Linked DNA regions of Homo sapiens: all the other regions are linked to region 3. Evidence: promoter capture Hi-C in 16 types of primary human blood cells and fetal thymus (Javierre and others, 2016). All regions are on one chromosome and are shown on one strand. The core of a region is centred on a gene start or on the middle of the fragment in contact, and the rest is flanking DNA. Distances in the headings are between cores, read along the strand shown. Region 1 overlaps EYA4 (EYA transcriptional coactivator and phosphatase 4). Region 2 overlaps EYA4 (EYA transcriptional coactivator and phosphatase 4). Region 3 holds the start of RPS12 (ribosomal protein S12).

Evidence for each region. Contacts are between HindIII fragments. The CHiCAGO score rates a contact against its expected background, and 5 or more counts as called.
Region 1: a fragment that was not itself captured here is called in contact with the fragment with the promoter of RPS12 in region 3 in 1 of 17 cell types (endothelial precursors); the score reaches 5.4 in endothelial precursors.
Region 2: a contact is called between a fragment that was not itself captured here and the fragment with the promoter of RPS12 in region 3, in 1 of 17 cell types (megakaryocytes). The highest score is 7.1, in megakaryocytes.

The regions. Positions count from the first base shown.
Region 1 is chr6:133,525,245-133,528,379 of GRCh38, forward strand. EYA4 (EYA transcriptional coactivator and phosphatase 4) reads left to right here. Exons shown (of 20, transcript NM_004100.5): 19 at 1-10. The region is part of intron 6 of TARID (TCF21 antisense RNA inducing promoter demethylation); the gene reads right to left. Among named protein-coding and RNA genes, the nearest start is that of EYA4-AS2, 70 kb to the left of the region's middle. The HindIII fragment of the contact is 5,594 bases long and covers 1-3,135 here.
Region 2 is chr6:133,504,053-133,506,824 of GRCh38, forward strand. It overlaps EYA4 (EYA transcriptional coactivator and phosphatase 4), which reads left to right. Exons shown (of 20, transcript NM_004100.5): 14 at 2,054-2,143. TARID (TCF21 antisense RNA inducing promoter demethylation) reads right to left here. Exons shown (of 9, transcript NR_109982.1): 8 at 2,027-2,218. Among named protein-coding and RNA genes, the nearest start is that of EYA4-AS2, 49 kb to the left of the region's middle. RefSeq lists an enhancer at 1,099-2,298. The HindIII fragment of the contact is 5,382 bases long and covers 1-2,772 here.
Region 3 is chr6:132,813,147-132,815,988 of GRCh38, forward strand. RPS12 (ribosomal protein S12) reads left to right here and starts at 1,423. Exons shown (of 6, transcript NM_001016.4): 1 at 1,423-1,467; 2 at 1,586-1,636; 3 at 1,826-1,942. The coding sequence starts at 1,623. It overlaps SNORD101 (small nucleolar RNA, C/D box 101), which reads left to right and starts at 2,161; the gene lies at 2,161-2,233. LOC107986644 (a long non-coding RNA gene) reads right to left here and starts at 1,142. Exons shown (of 3, transcript XR_001744345.3): 1 at 147-1,142. RefSeq lists enhancers at 388-1,134, 1,049-1,328, 1,759-1,888. The HindIII fragment of the contact is 13,401 bases long and covers 1-2,842 here.

The sequences.
Region 1 (3,135 bases), core at 369-2,868, 710 kb after region 3:
AGCAAAAAAGGTAACCTGTCTCAAACAATGTCGGTGTGATACTTCTAATGCAAGCCTTTTTGTTTGCATTTCTGTAGTTTGGCCCAATGGCAGCTTGACAAATGATTTAAATTTATAGATGCAAAGCAATAAGAGCATGAGAGGGTCAATACTTACATTCAAATAAACCATTTGGAGTTTAGCATTTTTTGCCTGAAATTTGATAGGAAATGCAGGGAAATTTAGTTATATTTATTTATGTGTTTGAAAGTATATACATATAGTAAATATATATAGTAACATATATATTTGTGTGGGCATGTATACACATGCTTATATAGATGCATATGTATATATTAATACACATACAATGTGCACAGATATAGATGAGCCAGGGGATCTGCAAGAAAGATTGGGGGGGAGAATAACCATTGTTAAGCACATGAAATTTAGCAAGATAGAGATTAATGAGCTCCATACAAAAGTCATGTGAGTAGTTCATGAGACCTGCATGCCATATGGTCCTCGTGAGTGCCTGGAAGTAGGCATGCTCCATGATAAGGAATGCTGAGGGCAGATTTAATAGCTGAAGAAAAACTGCTACAAGAGATTTTAATAAGTGCTACTGAAATGGGATGTATTGCTCAGATCCTTTTGCACCAACTTGTCTTAGCCGTAATGTGCCTCACATCTCCTAGAAGAGTTTCATCTGTTTTGGTGAGCCAGTGGTACTTGATTGAAGCCAAGCAGCTGGCTTTGAACACATTCAGAAGATCCCATGGGCCCTAAGTATTTTAATAAGCCTTTTCATCTGGCCCGTATTTCTGAAGAAGAAACCAAGGCAATTAAAAACCATTAAATGGTTGGTTCAACATCAAAAGAAGAATGATATCAGGATTGGCCCCCACCACCAGACTGTCAACTCCACCCTAAGATCTACTGCTGCCTTCACCGAATGATAGAAAAATATCATCTACCCAAGATAAAAGTGATAGAATTTACAAAACAAAGCCAGATGATGAATTAGTATTTTTAAAACAATGACATGCCAGCCTATACTGTTTTACATAGAAAGAATGTCATCTGTATCACCCTAAGGAGATTTTAAATCATCATCTAATAAAGCCTTTGCCATTTGCATGTGCTGGAATGTTTACCTGTTTTCAAAAAACAGTCAACATAGACAGTTTTATAGAAAAGTTTATGGCTATAAGAGAAAGAGAAAGGAAATGATGTATGTTTCTAGTCGATTTAAATCAAGCAAAATGGAGAAAAGGAAAGCACTTCCACTTTAGAAGTTTTGGTGACGTATTGGCAGCCATACTTGCTTTTCGATTACATTTAAGAGAGTAGGCTCAGGCTCTGCCTGCCACAGAACACCTCAGCCTTCATTAGCAGTGTCAATGACCCAAGACAGCACACTAGCCCCAAGCACGTCCTGTATGAGGTCAGGGCTGCAGCCTCAAGAAATACGGCTTTCATTGCTGACTACTACTTCAAATGCTTCCAGTCACACTGAACTGAAATATCTTCTGGAGTTTGTCAATGTCCTGAGTCCATGTTGTGATTTTTCTTATTGGCACCATAGTTATACACAACAAAGAGCAGCCAATGATTAGTAATACAGCCCCACTCCTGCTAAATTTACATGTCTTTTAGCCTATGCAAATTAAATTCACGTATATTTAGGTAAGGACTAATATAATTCAGTTTTCCAAACCAGTAACACAATATGCTTTTGACAATTAAAACTTAGCCGAGTCTACCTGTTTTCCACAGCATTAATGTTTAGATTCGGTTTACCAGTTGTTATACCTAAAACTTCAGGAGGGAAACGCATAACCCTGAATGGAAAACAATCTCAGATAGAATGCTATTTCCAAATGGTTGTTTATGTAGGTACAGTTTTGGTGATGGTGAAGGCTTATTATTCTATTTTAAAACAGAGGTGATTGGTTTCTCTAGTACCCAGAATGCATGCTTTTCTTTGGATGTAGCGGTAATCGCATGTGCAGAAATGTTAAGTACTGTTTTGTTGTTACAAATAGATCTGAGCTGAATGAAAAAATGTTACTTCTATGTGAATTTCAGTGACTTAATTTGACCTAGACATATTTTGTCTGAGAAATTTAAGAAGAAATATCAAAGTTTAGGAATAGGAATGTCTAGCTGCGCTCTTCCATAGAAACATGTAATATTAATACAAGCTGTATATGTAGTTTGAAATTTTCTAGAAGCTACATTTTACAAAATTAAAGAGAAACAGGTAGAATTAATTTTAATAACATGTCAACCCAGTATACCCAAAATAATTGTCTTGATATCTAATTAATGTAAAAATTATTGAAGTCATGTTTACATTCTTTTTTGTTTGTTTGTTTTGTCCTAAGTCTTTGAAATTCATTGTGTATTTTAAACTGGACCAACCACATTTCAAGTGCTCAATAGCCACATGTGGCTGGTGGCTACCATAGTGTGCAGCAAGGAATTATATAGCAATAAGGATTATTATGCTACTTAGTTCTTAAATAAAATATCTTTTGCATGTTTTATATCTATATACTCATTTCCCTTATATACATGAATATTTTATACGTACATATTCTAGAAGATGTCATCAGCCCAAACTTAACAAATCATGCTTTTGTTTTGTCAGTTCCTGTAATGCAGTGTTTTTTCTTTTTCATTATCATCGCCAGTGGGGACTCTTTAGACAGTTTTTTTCTAATTACTCCCTTTCATGAAATTTTAATGTCACATATGTACTGTATACTATTATAGTATATCTTTTGAAGGCCACAAACCACTGTAATGTCTAAGATTTTCTGCCCCACAAGAGCTCATTTGTGTCCCTTTGGAGATATCTTCCCCATTGAAAATGTATGCTAGAGTACTTTCTCTCAATTCTACGCCAGTGAAATAAATCAGGTCGACTCTACTGGCTTAAGTTATTGGTTGTCCCAGACAAGTAAGAAAGTTATAATCCCCACCTTTTTTTTCTACTTTATGTAGTCCTGCTTCAAATTATTTTTATACAGAAAGGAATTCACCCTCTTTTCTTCCTAGATTAACAAAATTAAGAAGTTTGTCATTTTGTTTCATTTTATTTTTAATTGAGAGGCCCGTAGGAGTGATGCACTGATTAAAACTTGCTTT
Region 2 (2,772 bases), core at 264-2,763, 690 kb after region 3:
GATTACAAGCACACACCACTGTGTCCAGCTAATTTTTGTATTTTTAGTAGAAACAGGGTTTTACCATGTTGGCCAGGCTGGTCTCGAACTCCTGACCTCAAATGGTCTGCCTGCCTCAGCCTCCCAAAGTGCTGGGAACACAGGCGTGAGCCACTGTGCCTGGCCTACTTATTAATAATTTTATTCTTGTTTTTAATGAATATTTGTTGGCTAAAACAGAACTGATTTGATCTTTGGGTATATAGTCCCAAATGGTTCTGTCACTGGAAGACGGATGAATCCGGCAGCACAGTCAAGCTACCGGATGACATAATACCAGGAGGCCATCAGATATGTGAAGAGTCAGCATCCATTACTGAGAAATGAGAATCTCTGCCTATGAAATCCACATAAATCTCTAAATGAGAAGATGCAAACAATTAGAAAATTATGTTGAAATCCAGCGTATTATTATCTTGTCTCTATCTTCACTCACATCGTCTTAGTTTAGCTCTCATACCCCAGTGACCCCTTAGCACTCAATGCCTTTTTCTTAGCATTTAATTCCTATTCTCCAGGTTTTCATGGCTATAGAACACAGGATGACATCTCAAATATGTTTACACTTTAGGGCTTCCCCCTCAAAACATGATGAAAGGAAATATAGGAATAAAATGGATTATCATAGTGGAGGTGTGGAATGAAGAGTGGTTTCTCCTTGCAAATGGAATCAGTTCAGGGTGTAGATGAATACTGCTTGGCCTGACCTGGGTTGCAGGTTCTTATCATAAATTGAGTAAAGTTTGCATTACATTTCCCCAAGTTGAGATACATTTCTTGAAATGCCAACTATTAGAACGTTGAAAACACAATTTCGGCTCTCTCTTCTCAAATCCCTGCAGTCTGGCTCCTGGCCCAGCCACTCAACCCAAATCACCCTCTGAGGTCTTCCAAAATAACTTCCCAGCCAAAACCAATAGTATCCTTCTAGACTTGTCAGCTTTATTCAAAACCTTATTCTTCTCCCTGCTAACACCCATCTGGTCTCAAATTTTAAGGGTTTGTCCCTTCCAGGTTTTTTCTTTCTCTTATCTTCGGAGTTGCACCTATGAGCAGTTCTTCTTTAGACATCATTCCAACTTTGATAATTTTAAACACAATGTTTGAGCATGAATTACTTCCCTATTCCCATCCCTATCCCCAAATGCTCCTTTCTTTTTAGTCTTATATCTCTTGATGCTAGGCCTTCAGCTGCAGTTAATTATGGTAAAGTAACAACTCTGGTCTTGATTTTCGACTTCTTGCTGCTGTTTAATATCTTGGTTTCTGTAAACAAAAATTGAGTCATTTTAACTCTTTACTGACCCCATCACTTCCCAAAGCATATATTTTTTACCTGGATTACACTTAGAGAACTAATGTTCTTTTAGCTATTCTCACCCCTCCCTTCTTCAACCTTAGTCAAATGCAGGTTAGACCAAACTCTACACATGTTTGGATAGGGAGATTCCTCTTACCTTGTTGATAAAAATGCAATTAAAAATTAAGTGATGGTCGCACCATCCTCTGCCAGCTCTTCCTGTTTCACCTCCAGATAACATTCTCTACTCAAGTCCTATAAATACCCAGTTGACCTATTTTTCTCTATCTTTTAATTCTTATTATTTGTCATTATTCTTAAAAAGACATCCTTTCTTTTTAGTAAGTTTGCTCCATTCTTCAGCACCCCATCCAAATACCTTTCTCCAGAATACTTTCCATAGATTATATGTAAACTGGGTCATATGAACTAGCTGATTTCCTTCCTCCTTCTCTCCTCAACATACAGCTTTATGTGAAAATGTATGCTGAGTCATCGTTACGTATGTCTGAATTCCCAGGTGTGTCTGTGCATTTGGTATGTCTGAACCTTCTGGAAAGTCACCTTTTTGGAAAACTGAGAAATCTTTTGAATCTTCAGTAAAAACCCATGCAGTCTTCTCCCTCTTCCACCACAGCAATATGTGCTTAAAATATTTTTAATAATAAGCGCTTACTGAAATTTTACCTCATTATGTGTACATTTTCTTTACAGGATCCCCCCATGGCTGTAACCCTTGGACTCCGCATGGAAGAAATGATTTTTAATCTTGCTGATACTCATTTGTTTTTTAATGATTTAGAGGTAAGAATTTTACAAGGTACAAATAGTTGTATCCAACACCAGACCTCCTAGATGGTTTCTGTATCTGTAGATAACCTCGAGAAAACAGAAAGATAAAAATTCAGCTCAAGAGAAGCATAAAGTTCTTGTCAAGAGGAAAAATTGTATATACAAATATAAGCAGAAAGTTAATTTGTGTTCATGAATAATACATATGTAGAACAAAAATGTCTCTGAAGAGGAGATTGTTGGCTTTGCTGTCCTTACTGTCCACAGCTGTACATGACTCTTGGTTCTTTTAGTGTTTCAGCATTAGCTCTTCCAGATTATTAACCCGGAACCTATCTAGGTTAATCACTAAACGATATTCACAGACACTATTCATGGTGATAGCGTGGATCAATTAATTTTGTGGATAATCTGAAACTTAACTTTAGCTAACATTATCATTCCCCGTTTCTTTCCCTTCTGGATAAAACAGTGCTAGAACTATTTAAGCACATTTGATGCATTTAAATGCATTTATTTTCTCATTTTAAAAATTATGTTTCTATTTTCAACCTCAAATGGCAAGACAGTGTCTAAATGGCAAATAAGAGGAATAGAAAATAAAAATCAACAGCAAAATGAAACGACCCAAGGAAAAATAG
Region 3 (2,842 bases), core at 173-2,672:
ACTGAAACCAGCGGAAAATCTAAAACTGAACTCTATCAGTAAACTGAACTCTATCAGTTTATTAACATTACAGCAGGTCTCTGTTCTGGTGAACTCCCTGGTGCTCTTACTGCGTTACCCATTTTTGTTTTTTTCGCTGCACTCACCAGTCTAACAGTATCTGCCCACTGGATTCACAGCGCTGGCACGTGCCAAGCGCCTAATAATTGCTCACTGGTTTGGCGGCTGACTACCCAGGAGAGGAAATTAAACACAAAGGCAGTATTGATCATATTCAGTAGTGTTTCGTGCGTTTGGTTTGGAAGTGGGGATTGGGGAATGGCCAATCACTTCCAAATTTAAAATATTGCTTCCTGGAAGAAAATGGACTCCTCAAAGACTGGATATTTCATGTCTGTAGTCCCAGGACCTGGCCCTGCGTCAGGCACATTGTAGGTGTTGAAAATGCACCTGAGGAATTCTGAGTTGCGCGGAACTGTGTATTCCGAGCACAACGCGTCGTTAAAAACCAAACAAAGCAGAACAAACTTCGTTCAGAAGCGACTCCCGCTATACTTAGAAACTAGAATTGACCCCTGGCTGCAGGGTTCCGCTTTACCAACACACCGCAGGGAAAGGGCTTAGAAATAGTGAAAGCGGCCGGGGGCGGCGGGTCACGCCTCTAATCCCAGCATTTTGGGAGGCCGAGGCGGGTGGATCCCCTGAGGTCAGGAGTTCGAGACCAGCCTGGCCAACATGGTGAAATCCCGTCTTTACTAAAAATACAAAAAATTAGCCAGGGTGGTGGCAGGCGCCTGCAATCCCGGCTACTCGGGAGGCTGAGGCAGGAGAATCGCTTGAAACCGGGAGCCGGAGGTCGCAGTAAGCTGAGATCGCGCCATTGCACTCCAGCCTGGAAGAGTGAAAGCATGTAGGCTCTCGTTTCATGAAGACAAAGATGAGGATCACACCCACAACGACACAAACATGGTCTCTCAGGGTGACTTAGAAGCGAAGGAACAAAGTGCGCTGCCTGGGGAGGCTGGGTCTTGTAGAAGCAACAGGAAAGTAGAACGTGGTGTGGAAAGGGTTAAAACTGGCGCTCGGCGGGATACAGGGCTCTAGGTGCCTTAAAGAACACGCGGACACACTTGTTTGGCTTCTGTCGCGCTCCGTAGAATGAGTTCCCTGGGCCTCGGTGGGCCACGCCTCCGCAAAGAAGGACAACGCGAAGCTGCCCGCGTAGTGCCTGTTGCACTCGCCAAGGACCGGCCTGGCAGAGATAGAAAACTCGCAGTACGTTTGCCTCAGAACCGCCTCAATCCGGAAACAGAAACTCCCCAGGCCCGGCACTGCGGGAGCCACCTCTTTCGAGGGTGGGAGTGCACATGCGCACAGGGGACCTGAAAAACCCTTAAATACCGGCATGCGTGCGGATGAGGCCTCTTTCCCTGCCGCCGCCGAGTCGCGCGGAGGCGGAGGCTTGGGGTAAGTTGAGCGAGGCGGCAGGGGGGTGTATTGGTTATAATTTGTGGCTCGTTGCGTTCTTGCTGGGATTCGTGACGAGTATCTGGTTCTTTAACAAGTCAATGCTTTTGTTTTTTAGTGCGTTCAAGATTCAACTTCACCCGTAACCCACCGCCATGGCCGAGGAAGGGTGAGCCCAGGGGCCGGGGTTGGAGTTGGGGTCGGGGTGCGGCTGAGGCGTGGGGCTAGAGCTGGCGGAACAGGACTGGGTCAAACGGGTCGCCGTAAGCGCGTCTGTTGTACACTTAGCTTTTGCTGAGTGCAAGGCCTTATGTGGTGTGAGGATTTTAACTGATGGTTCTGATGTGTCGCGTTTAAGCATTGCTGCTGGAGGTGTAATGGACGTTAATACTGCTTTACAAGAGGTTCTGAAGACTGCCCTCATCCACGATGGCCTAGCACGTGGAATTCGCGAAGCTGCCAAAGCCTTAGACAAGTACGTGTATCAGTCTCAATACTGTGGGTTCTTGCAACCGGAACAAAACTGCCACCCAAGGGAAGAAGGCATGGAGTTCATGGTGTTAGCGCAAAAGTTCTGAATGGCATCCGTCCTACCGGAAACCTAGGAAAAGGTATCAGAACTCAGATCTATAAAGCCCACTTAAAATGTGTGGGTTGCTGTTTGGAATGGGGATAAGCACTCAAAACTACAGTGTTTGAATGATGACTTTAATTGTCGGATACCCCTTCACTCCTTTTATGAGTGAAACATAAGAGTCTGACAAACCTGTAGGTTGTGGAGCTAGTCAGTCTTATACTTATCTGGCAGATAGATGAGATGGAGAGCCACATTACATCTGGTAGTTTGCAAAACAAGCATTAATTTAATGGAATTTCAAACTCAGGTTTCAGAAGCATTTGGTCCTAGATGAATTTAGTAGTATAATAGCTGTGATTTATTTGAATTTGGGATATTTGTTAATGTATTTGAATGGATCGAGTTAATGTGTTTTTTAGGGTGGTGGCATTGACAAATCAACCTACTCTTGAGCTGAATTTAAATGCAGTTTTAAGGTTTTACAGGACAAGTTCGTTTTGGTGTAATCTAGCCAGTTCAATCCGATGGAAACGGCATTATTGTTTAATGTATTTAGTAGGTCCTAGTATGAGTCTTCTGTATTTCTATTTCGGCATTATTGCATGGCATTTCATAACTGTTCCATTAATGCCACAGTCTTTTTTTTTTCTTTTTTCTTTTTTTTTTTTGAGACAAAGAGTCTTGCTCTGTCCCCCAGGCTGGAGTGCAGTGGCGCGATCTCATTGCAACCTCTACCTACCAGGTTCAAGCGATTCTTCTGCCTCCCGAGTAGATGGAATTACAGGCACACGCCACCAT